Linked DNA regions of Homo sapiens: region 2 is linked to region 1. Evidence: promoter capture Hi-C in 16 types of primary human blood cells and fetal thymus (Javierre and others, 2016). All regions are on one chromosome and are shown on one strand. Each heading gives the region's core, a stretch centred on a gene start or on the middle of the fragment in contact. The rest is flanking DNA. Distances are from core to core; before and after follow the strand shown.

The links. Contacts are between HindIII fragments. The CHiCAGO score rates a contact against its expected background, and 5 or more counts as called.
Region 2: a contact is called between a fragment that was not itself captured here and the fragment with the promoter of JAK1 in region 1, in 2 of 17 cell types (naive CD8 T cells and total CD8 T cells). The highest score is 7.2, in naive CD8 T cells.

The regions. Positions count from the first base shown.
Region 1 is chr1:64,963,746-64,968,499 of GRCh38, forward strand. JAK1 (Janus kinase 1) reads right to left here and starts at 2,804. Exons shown (of 25, transcript NM_002227.4): 1 at 2,588-2,804. RefSeq lists a silencer at 2,149-3,028. The HindIII fragment of the contact is 15,152 bases long and covers 1-4,691 here.
Region 2 is chr1:67,680,638-67,685,391 of GRCh38, forward strand. GADD45A (growth arrest and DNA damage inducible alpha) reads left to right here and starts at 4,564. Exons shown (of 4, transcript NM_001924.4): 1 at 4,564-4,754. RefSeq lists a cis regulatory region at 1,973-2,465 and silencers at 4,228-4,407, 4,418-4,477, 4,668-4,754. The HindIII fragment of the contact is 1,492 bases long and covers 2,163-3,654 here.

The DNA of each region.
Region 1 (4,754 bases), core at 1,554-4,053:
GTGAAAAAATTTGCCACAAGAGCCCAGATCTTCTTGCTCCTTACTCAGTATTCCAAAGCAGGACTTCTTAACCTGGGCACTACTGAGATGGATAATTCTTTGTTTGGGATGGGGGGCTGTCTTGTGCGTTATAGGATGTTTAGTAGCATCCCTAGCCTCTAACCACTAGATGCCTACCAGTAGCACCGCTCCCTTCCCCCAAGTTGTAACAACCAAAAATGTCTCCAGAAACTGCAAATATCTCATTGGGTGCAAAATCATACCCTTACTAGTCTAAAAAAATCTGAAAGTTCCTTCCAACACTCCTGTTCAATGACAAGGTTCCATATACCACTGAGCCACAATAATCACAGAACATCCAATGTTCCTTCTTCAGCGAGATTCCATTAATAAGCCAATTCCCCATCCACTTAAAATAATGGTTTTAAATGTGAAAATGAACAAGAAAAATTTATTTGTATGAATATTCACATCTCAGACAATAAATCTTCTAACAGCATGCTATTATCTTATCAGGACATAAGGACATACAAAATGGGATGTGTCTTTGAGGGGAAAAAAACACCAGAGGAATCTGAGAATTAGAAAACACAGATCATGGTCTTTGCTATGCAGTTATACCTTAGTGTTCTCTTGTTCTCTCTACACAAATGAGTATCAACCTACACGTTCTCAATGCTTGTTTCAGTCGGAAGTATATGGCTTTAGCCAAGCTCATGTTAAGATCCTAAATTACAACAACTGAAATGTAGTTATATTTTAGGAAATGTTTGAATTATTTTACCTATATCTAATTTATGCATTCTCTACAATCATTTCCCAATGGTAGTAAATAATTAGTATAGTATGAAATGGAGGAAACCATTTAAACTGGCTGTATTCAGTGTGGAGTATCACACTGCAATCCTAGCAGTAAAAAAACATAGTTTTGTATCTATTTGCAGAAACTAAGACTCAGTCAAAGCACTTAGTTAATATGATATACAGAATTAAGAAGAGGTTATGATTATTCCTATTTATAATGTCCAAAGTCATTCCAGTATGATGTCTTCACATCTTTAAATGTGATCTGGATCTATACAGGGGAGACATTTTCTCCACATTACAAAGCATATTGTACCAGAAATGTCTGGAACCCTGGTGGTCTCCATTAATCTTCACCACAAAGTACAAAAGAACACATTGATCCTTCAATGAAAATAATCCCCTGGTCTTGGAAAACATCAGAGTCACCAAAAGCAAAATCAAGAAACAACACATAATGGGGTTTTGGAAAGGGAAGAACAAAGATTCAATCAATACGAATTGCTCATCTTAAACAAAATCTACTGTGCCTATACCCATATTTAACTCAAATCTTTTCTTCAAAAAATAAAAAAATAGCCAAAACCAAACACGCCCTGATTTACATCTCTCTCTGCATTATTCTCATCACTTAACTACCCATGTTTTACTCCCTGAAAGAAGTAATGACAATTTTATACCACTGTAAATTCCTGCCAGTGAGAGAAAAACCCTATGACTTGGGGGGAAAAGTGTCAATGACATGTATAGCGATGTACTCAACCAGGGGCAGAAGGCAGCTCACAGCCACGTAGTAAGAAGAGTGGCAGGAAGGACGGGGTCCCCTTCCCCAGGAACACACAGGAAATCATGGAGTGCAAACCCTCCAAAAAACGTGTGCACAAACACCTGGCAAACATCGCATCTTTTATCTAGAAGTTCCGTGGTAAACACACATCCAAGGAGCCCACATCCCAGGGACCCTGGGGAGTGACTTTGGAGGAGTGTCTATTAGTCCTCCGATGCTCCCGGTCGCCGACGATGCGCGGATGGAGTTGGAGTGAGGGAGCCAGAGACCAGCCCCAGTTTCGGTTAATCAGTCCCTTTCCAGTGGGATTCGCAATTCCCCGGGTAGTTCTCTCCCACTGTTCCCCTTCCCTGGTCCTCTCGCCCAGGGTCTCCTTTCCCACTTCTCGCTGGCTACCTGAGGCCTGGTTCCTAACAGAACCTAAGAGGGGAGGGGGCGTTTCCCGAGTTCGCGGACGCCCAACACCCAGCTCCAAATCCCAGAAACTTTCCCTCGCTGAGACCGCAAGGAAGGAAAAAAGCTAAGACCCTCAGCCTCCTTCCTGGGGCCGAAGAAGAAAACCTTTCTGCGCTGCCACCCCGGCCGGGAGCTGGCGGTCAAGTTCGCGGTACAAGGAGCTAGGGACGTCAGCCCTCCAGCCCGCGCCTGTATCTCGGGGTGGTATAAACAGGATGTCAGACAGCGCGCTCCGGGCTTGTTTATGAAAACTTGCCGTGCGCGCTGGGGGAGGGGGCGGCCTGGCTTAACCGCTCTTCTCCCGGCCGGGGGCCCCCGCCCGGCGACCTCCTCGCCGCCCGCCGGCTCCGCGGGGCTGGAAATCCCCGCCTTCCCCGCCCGAGCCGCGGGGTCCTGAGCTGCGCTCAGGAGCAGCCCGGGCCGCGCAGCCTAAGGACCGACCAAGAGCGGTGGCCGCGCCTCCGGCCAGTCCGGGCTGCGCGCCCCTCGCCTGCCGACCGCGGCCGCCCCGGCTCCTCCACCTCCCCCGGTGACACTCACCACTTCCGTGTGCGCCTGGGCCAGGCAGCGCCCCGTCGCTGCGCTGGCTGGGGTCGACCGGCAGGCTCGCTAGGCGGCCAGCCCCGCGGGGCCCCAGCGTGCGCGCGCCCAGGGCTGAGGAGGGGTCGCGGCGAGGACAGCCGGGACTGGGCGCAGGCCCGCACTGTCTGCAGCTCCAGGATACTCCGCGGCCGCCGCGGCCTGCGCTCAGCGACGCACCGCCTCCCGTCCCGCCCCGCCCCGCCCCGCGGCCGGCCCCACCCCCGTGGCCGCCGGGCCCACCCCCTCGCGACGTCACCAGCGGCAGCCCCGGAAAGCGGGGCGGGGTCGCGGTCCCGGCGGAGACTCTGCGCCTCCGGCCTACCCGCCCCGCCCCCATCCGGCTTCGCTCGCGAAGCTGCCCCCACTCGTCTCTGTTCACCGCGTCCTCTAGATTCTAGAATCTAGAAACTCATCTAGGACGCGAGGTCATCTATCGCGGGGAGTAAAATTGCCAGGATTCGCCCGTAGATTGACCCCTCCCAGCTCTGGAGCCCCCTCCGCCACACCTTTGTGCGCTCGATGCAGAAATGCATCCCGCCTCCTCCGTATACGCTCCGCTTCTTACCCCAGCTCAGTAGGAGAGGAGCTAGTGGAGCACTAGACTAAAAAGAATTTAACAATACAGCCCCCAGCTTGGACAAGCTACTGCAGATCCAACCCATTCCGTATTTTAAAAGCTCTTTACGAAAAAAAAAAAAGCATATGCATAATAGGAATTAGAACTACATTCACTGATACCTAATGCATGTACAGCGCTTTTCATTTTTTACTAATAACCTCTCAAAGTAGTAGCATCATCTTATCCATGAGGAACAAATTAAGTCTTTAGTGTCTTAATCAAGGTCACACTGTAGCCAAGATTCATACTTCGTAGGCAGTCCACGGACAAATCCTAACAATTTTATTTCCTTAGGTATCTCTCCAATCAGTTCACTTGTCTATGTTCCGGCAACACGGTCCGAGCTGCCACCATCTCTCACCTGAAGGGACCACGAACATCTCTTAAATCGTCACTCCATTCACTCCAGCCCCCAATTAATTCTCTACAATGAACTTTTAAAAATTCAAATCTGTTCCACACACTCCCATGCTTAAAACACTCCAGCGACTTCCCCCTGACAATCCCTGGATGAAAATCCTCCGAGGCCGTGCACGGTCAGAATTCTGCAGCTTCAGGGCTGTGGACAGAGGCTGCCCCACCTGTGCTGACTTCACTAACCCTGCTGGACAGTTCCTGATCACTTGAGTTACTGCAACTGAAACTGAGCAAGATATTCTGGGTGTGGAATAAAGTCAAGCATCCGAATTAGACTACTGAATTTGAGGTTTGGCCTCCACCAGTAACCACCTGTGTTGCCCTAAACAATTCTTAGTTGACTCAATTCTCAGTGGAGCAGCAGACAAAAGGATCTCCAAAGTGCCTTCCAGAAGTACAGAAAAGAGGACCAAAGAAGACCGGAGATCAGAGCAGACAGGGAGGCAACCCGGGTTGCCTGCATTGTGGGTGTTTGTGTGCAAGTCTTGTCTCATCTGCCACACTCTGAACAACACCTCAGGGCTGTTTGCATCATTTTCTTCACCTGTTAAATAGGGATAATGCCTTCCTTAAAGGGGTTTTGCTGAAGGTGAACTATGATAATATAGCCCACATGGCATGGGCTCAGGAAGTGGTAGGGGTTTTTATTGAGCTGGACCATAAAGAACAGGTGAGACTGACATGAAGGGAGACAGAGACGTGAAAGAACAGCATTTCAGGTGAGGATGTAAAGAAAAAGGAAAGTCAGGAAGGCAGCAGTGAACCCATTGTGCCCACGAACGAATCTGGCTGTTCACAGGGTGGAATCAGGGGGAGAGGGCCTGGATTCAGTTTAGATCTGTTCGTCTATAACAGACATTGTGCTAGGTGATGAAGATTCAGAGAAAAAAAAAATAGACTAGGTTCCTGACCTCTGAATGCTCAATGCAGTCAGAGAGACAGGCAAGTAACAATTCAGTGATTCCCGGTCCTGTAATGGTGATCACAGAAGACAGTCACCCAGCCGAGTCTGAGGAAGTCAGAATAAGCTTCAAGTAGCCGACAGGAGGCAGGAGTCAGGAGGTAGCGGCATATTCAGGCAGTAATAGT
Region 2 (4,754 bases), core at 1,659-4,158, 2.7 Mb after region 1:
AGGTTCAGAAGAGATGACTGACCAGGTTTGAAATATATTTGGGAGTCATCAGCATATAAATAATTAAGGCCATGGGACCATATGAGGTCACCAAGAGAGTGAGTACAGAGAAGAGGTATAAGCATGAGCTGTTAAGAAGTTAGGAAGAAGAAAACTTTGCAATGAAGTTGATGGGTGAATAGAATTGTTTCTTTTATTTCAGAGAGAGAAAACTCACAAATTGGCTGGGCGCAGTGGCTCACACCTGTAATCCCAGCACTTTGCGAGGCCAAGGTGGGAGGACTGCTTAAGCCCAGGCGTTTGAGACCAGCCTGGGCAACAAAGCAAGACCCCGTTTCTTTGGAAAATTTTAAAATTAGGCTGGTGTGATGGCATGTGCCTATAGTCCCAGGTACTCAGGAGGCTGAGGTAGGAAGATCGCTTGAGCCTGGGAGTTCAAGACTGCAGTGAGCTATGACAGTGCCACTGCACTCTAGTCTGGATGACAGAGGATGACCCTGTCTCAAAAAAGAAAAAAAAAAAAGCAAACTCACAAATCTGTTCAAGGTGCAAAAACAACCTACCAGTGGCCAATCACCAACTCAGACCACCTACTTCCCTCACCAGTGATTAGGCTACAAAGCAGAGACTCTCAGAACATTCCTCCCATGATAGAAGCCTTCTGATACGCACCGACAGAGAGGTGAGGGGTTAGGGGGTGTTGATCTTGAAGAATGTTCTAGTTAGTCTCTTCATCTGACTTCTCCACTGGCTGGGCCTTGCTTGGCTGGTGAAATGTGAGCAGCTGATGGCAGCACAAGGTGGCCAGCCCAAAGCTCAAATTAACACTATGATTACTACCATGATTCTTAATAGCTGAAGAGAATTTCCACAGGATAAGGATTTATTGAACACACAAAAAAGATGGCATTAAGAATATTATACTAGTTTTTTGTTGTTGTTTTTGTTTTTGTTTTGAGACGGAGTTTCAATCTTGTCACCCAGGCTGGAGTGCAATGGCACCATCTCGGCTCACTGCAACCTCCACCTCCAGATTCAAGTGATTCTCCTGCCTCAGCCTCCCGAGTAGCTAAGATTACAGGTGCCTGCCACCGCGCCTGGCTAATTTTTGTATTTTTAGTAGAGCTGGGGTTTCACCATGTTAGCCAGGCTGGTCTCAAACTCCTTAGCCAGGCTGGTCTCAAGCTCCTGACCTCAGGTGATCCACCCGCCTTGGCCTCCCAAAGTGCTGGGATTACAGGTGTGAGCCACCACACCTGGCCCCAACTAATTTTTGTATTTTTAGTAGAGGTGGGGTTTTACCATGTTGGCCAGGCTGGTTTTGAACTCCTGACCTCAGGTGATCCGACCTCCTCAGCCTCTCAAAGTGCTGGGATTACAGGCGTGAGCTACTGCACCTGACCAGGAACCTTATGATTTTTAACAAGAAAAAATAATACAATACAATTCTAGGTAGGTGGAAAATACATCCATCATAGTTGAACTGATCTTCTCCTTTGATGTGGACAATGATCTAATACTGAAATAACAAGCATTATATTTCTTTCAGATGTTAAAGCATTGATTGTTTTTTGAAAGAAAGAAAGAATAATTCTGCATTATGGAACCAGTAGTAGGAATGTATGTAGGATAAGCATGACTAAAATATCAAAAAGATCTTTAATATGCAAAGCAAGTAGCAGTGCTAAAATAATTGAACAATTCTTGAGTATATATTTCCATATGATTTCTAAATATAATCATTTGGTATCTTTACAAACATTACTACAAGAGCATTCTACTCCTGTGTACTTGGCAGTTGTCAGAGTTACCTGTAGTGGTTTTTAAAATGACATCACATATTGGAGTTATCACACTGATTATAAAGAAATATATATATATATATAATATTGATATAGGAAAATTTCTCTGATTTACCATTGACTATCAATGTCCTCCAGGACTAATAAACAGTTAATGATAAATCAACTATGTCCATTCTAATGTGTAACTACAATCTAACTGTGTAGCTAAATGCAGTTTTTACTTCCAGTCATGAGGCCCAACTTTGAAGATAATCACTGAGAAAACATTCTAGGTATACTCAGCAATCAGGCAAAATGATGTAACGTATCTGAGTCAGAAAGTATGACAAATGAATATTTTTGCATACTGGAAGCCCAAGCTTATCTCAGAGAAAATCCCCAAAATACTTGGGCAAATAACTTTCTGATGAAGTCAAATATAGCATGCAGTATAATTTTTGAGTGGAGGACTAAGCCTATAATAAGAAGTAACCATTTGATATCACATTTTTACTGGATATAGTCGACTTGGGTGGGGCACTTTAGGACTGTGGTTCATTTGAATTGGTGTAAACAATACACCGGTTCTACTGTCCTACAGCCTCCATTCAGATGACTGAAGTCATGGGACTTTCAGCATAGCTAGCTGATGACAGTGCATACTATTTTGTCCCAAAATCCAGTTCAAGCATGGACATACCAATAAGAGCCTAAGCTCTTTAAAGGCAAAGGACCAGGAATTGTACAGTTCTTGGTATAGAAGAAGACAGGCAAAAGTGTTTTTGAACTAACGTTAAATGTGCAATATGTTAGAATTCATGCAATGCACAGGACTGCAGGATTCTGATATCTTATTTAACTCTCAAATTCTATTCAACTCAATAAACCTTGACTGTGCTTCTACTAAATGCAGGTATTGTACTAGGAGCTGAGGACACCAAACTGATGAAGTCCTTGCTGTCAAGAAACTCACATGATTCCCTAATTCTTTGTCAGCTTGCTGTGATCACATTTTCTTCCCAAGAACCTCTAAGAAATGCCTAGTGGATAGAACCTTGGAGTTCCACGGAACATATTAACAATCGCCAAATGATGACTCAGGCTAGATTGTGTAATTCAGGTTTTGTCTGCAAAACTGAAAATGCTTCGGTAACCTACCTAAATTTCAATGTTGAGGAATTCTTTAAGAAAGACATCAAATGTTAAGATTTAAGGCATAGATATGAGATACATAGTCATGCTTAGGTGAATTATGCACTGACCATGACCATTTCTTTACTCAAATGTTGTCCATGGCTGACAACACAGTGAAAAAATGAGTGCAAAATGACAACTCAAATAAATGAACCAGAAAACCTATCACTTTTCTTTTCCACCAAATTAAGATCAAGAGAGCTGGAGAATATTTTGTCTAGAGTGATAAAAACATAAGGGTGCAAAACTTCCAGGTACCTTTGCAGAAATTACTTCTGTGACCTTTGGCTGTACAGCAACCTTAATAATGCAAGCACTGTTTTGAATGCAAGCATGTGGGAGCCATTTTCACCACTTTTGATGACTTCAGTAGGTTTAAGAAATGTTTTTGCTTTTATTGCATAAACCATAAAACAAAGGAAGGGACTTTTGAACTACTCAGTGAGAGTCTATATATTAAAGTTTGTTTTTCAAAAATGTGTAACTACCATTTGCAGTTTTAAAGGTCTGCTTTCCACCTACAAGTTGCCATTATCTCAAAGGTGAAATTTTAGCATATGACTAAAAACTTCCTATAGTTACAGCTTCATGATTCAGCATCTAACATCAATAATTCACAGTGAGATCATAGGAGGCTCTCTGTGGAAGGTAACGACATACATACGTTAGGAAAGGAAGCTTAGGGCATATCGAGAGCATTTTGAATTTAGACTTGTGGGCTGTGTGGGTGTCAGATGGTTGTCTCTCAGCTGGTGGGCGTCCAGAAGGATCCTTGTTTGGGCAAGGCTCTTTGAGAAAGGAGAATCTGGGTTGCCAGGGATTCCCACATGTGGTCACCAGCTCCCCACGCAGACCAGCTCACGATTTCCCAGTTACACCGGGCAGGTGGGAAACCGTTCTGCTTTCTGTGGAAAAGATTCTAACTTGGTTCCCTGCCATCCCTGAATACAAACGGGTTGGTTTTTCTTTTTTCAGCTTCCAACCCTTGCAGCTTTCCAAAAATAAATCAAACCAGCCATCAGGGCACCGAAATAATACTACTGCTAATAAGCAGCTTCGCCTAGACTTAGATAAACAACACTTCTGAGGTAAACTTTGCCCCGGAGGTCTGGAGACACTTTTTTAATGTAACCTGCTTACTAATAATTACTAGACTTCAGTGCATTAACCCTGGAAATAGATTTTAATAGCCACCCCTTAAAACAAAAGACATGAAAAGATAATAAGAAAAAAGTGCCGCAACTATTATAGAAAAACACTTGGCAGCCTGCTTCAGCCCAAGCTGAGGCCACCTCTAGCCTCTGCTAAAGCCCCCCACTCCCAATGGTCCCCGCCAACCGGATAAGAGTGCGCGCGGGACCCGCCTTCCCCTCTCGGCACCGCCCCCGCCCCCGCCCCCTCGGCTCGCCTCCCGCGTGGCTCCTCCCTTTTCCGCTCCTCTCAACCTGACTCCAGGAGCTGGGGTCAAATTGCTGGAGCAGGCTGATTTGCATAGCCCAATGGCCAAGCTGCATGCAAATGAGGCGGAAGGTGGTTGGCTGAGGGTTGGCAGGATAACCCCGGAGAGCGGGGCCCTTTGTCCTCCAGTGGCTGGTAGGCAGTGGCTGGGAGGCAGCGGCCCAATTAGTGTCGTGCGGCCCGTGGCGAGGCGAGGTCCGGGGAGCGAGCGAGCAAGCAAGGCGGGAGGGGTGGCCGGAGCTGCGGCGGCTGGCACAGGAGGAGGAGCCCGGGCGGGCGAGGGGCGGCCGGAGAGCGCCAGGGCCTGAGCTGCCGGAG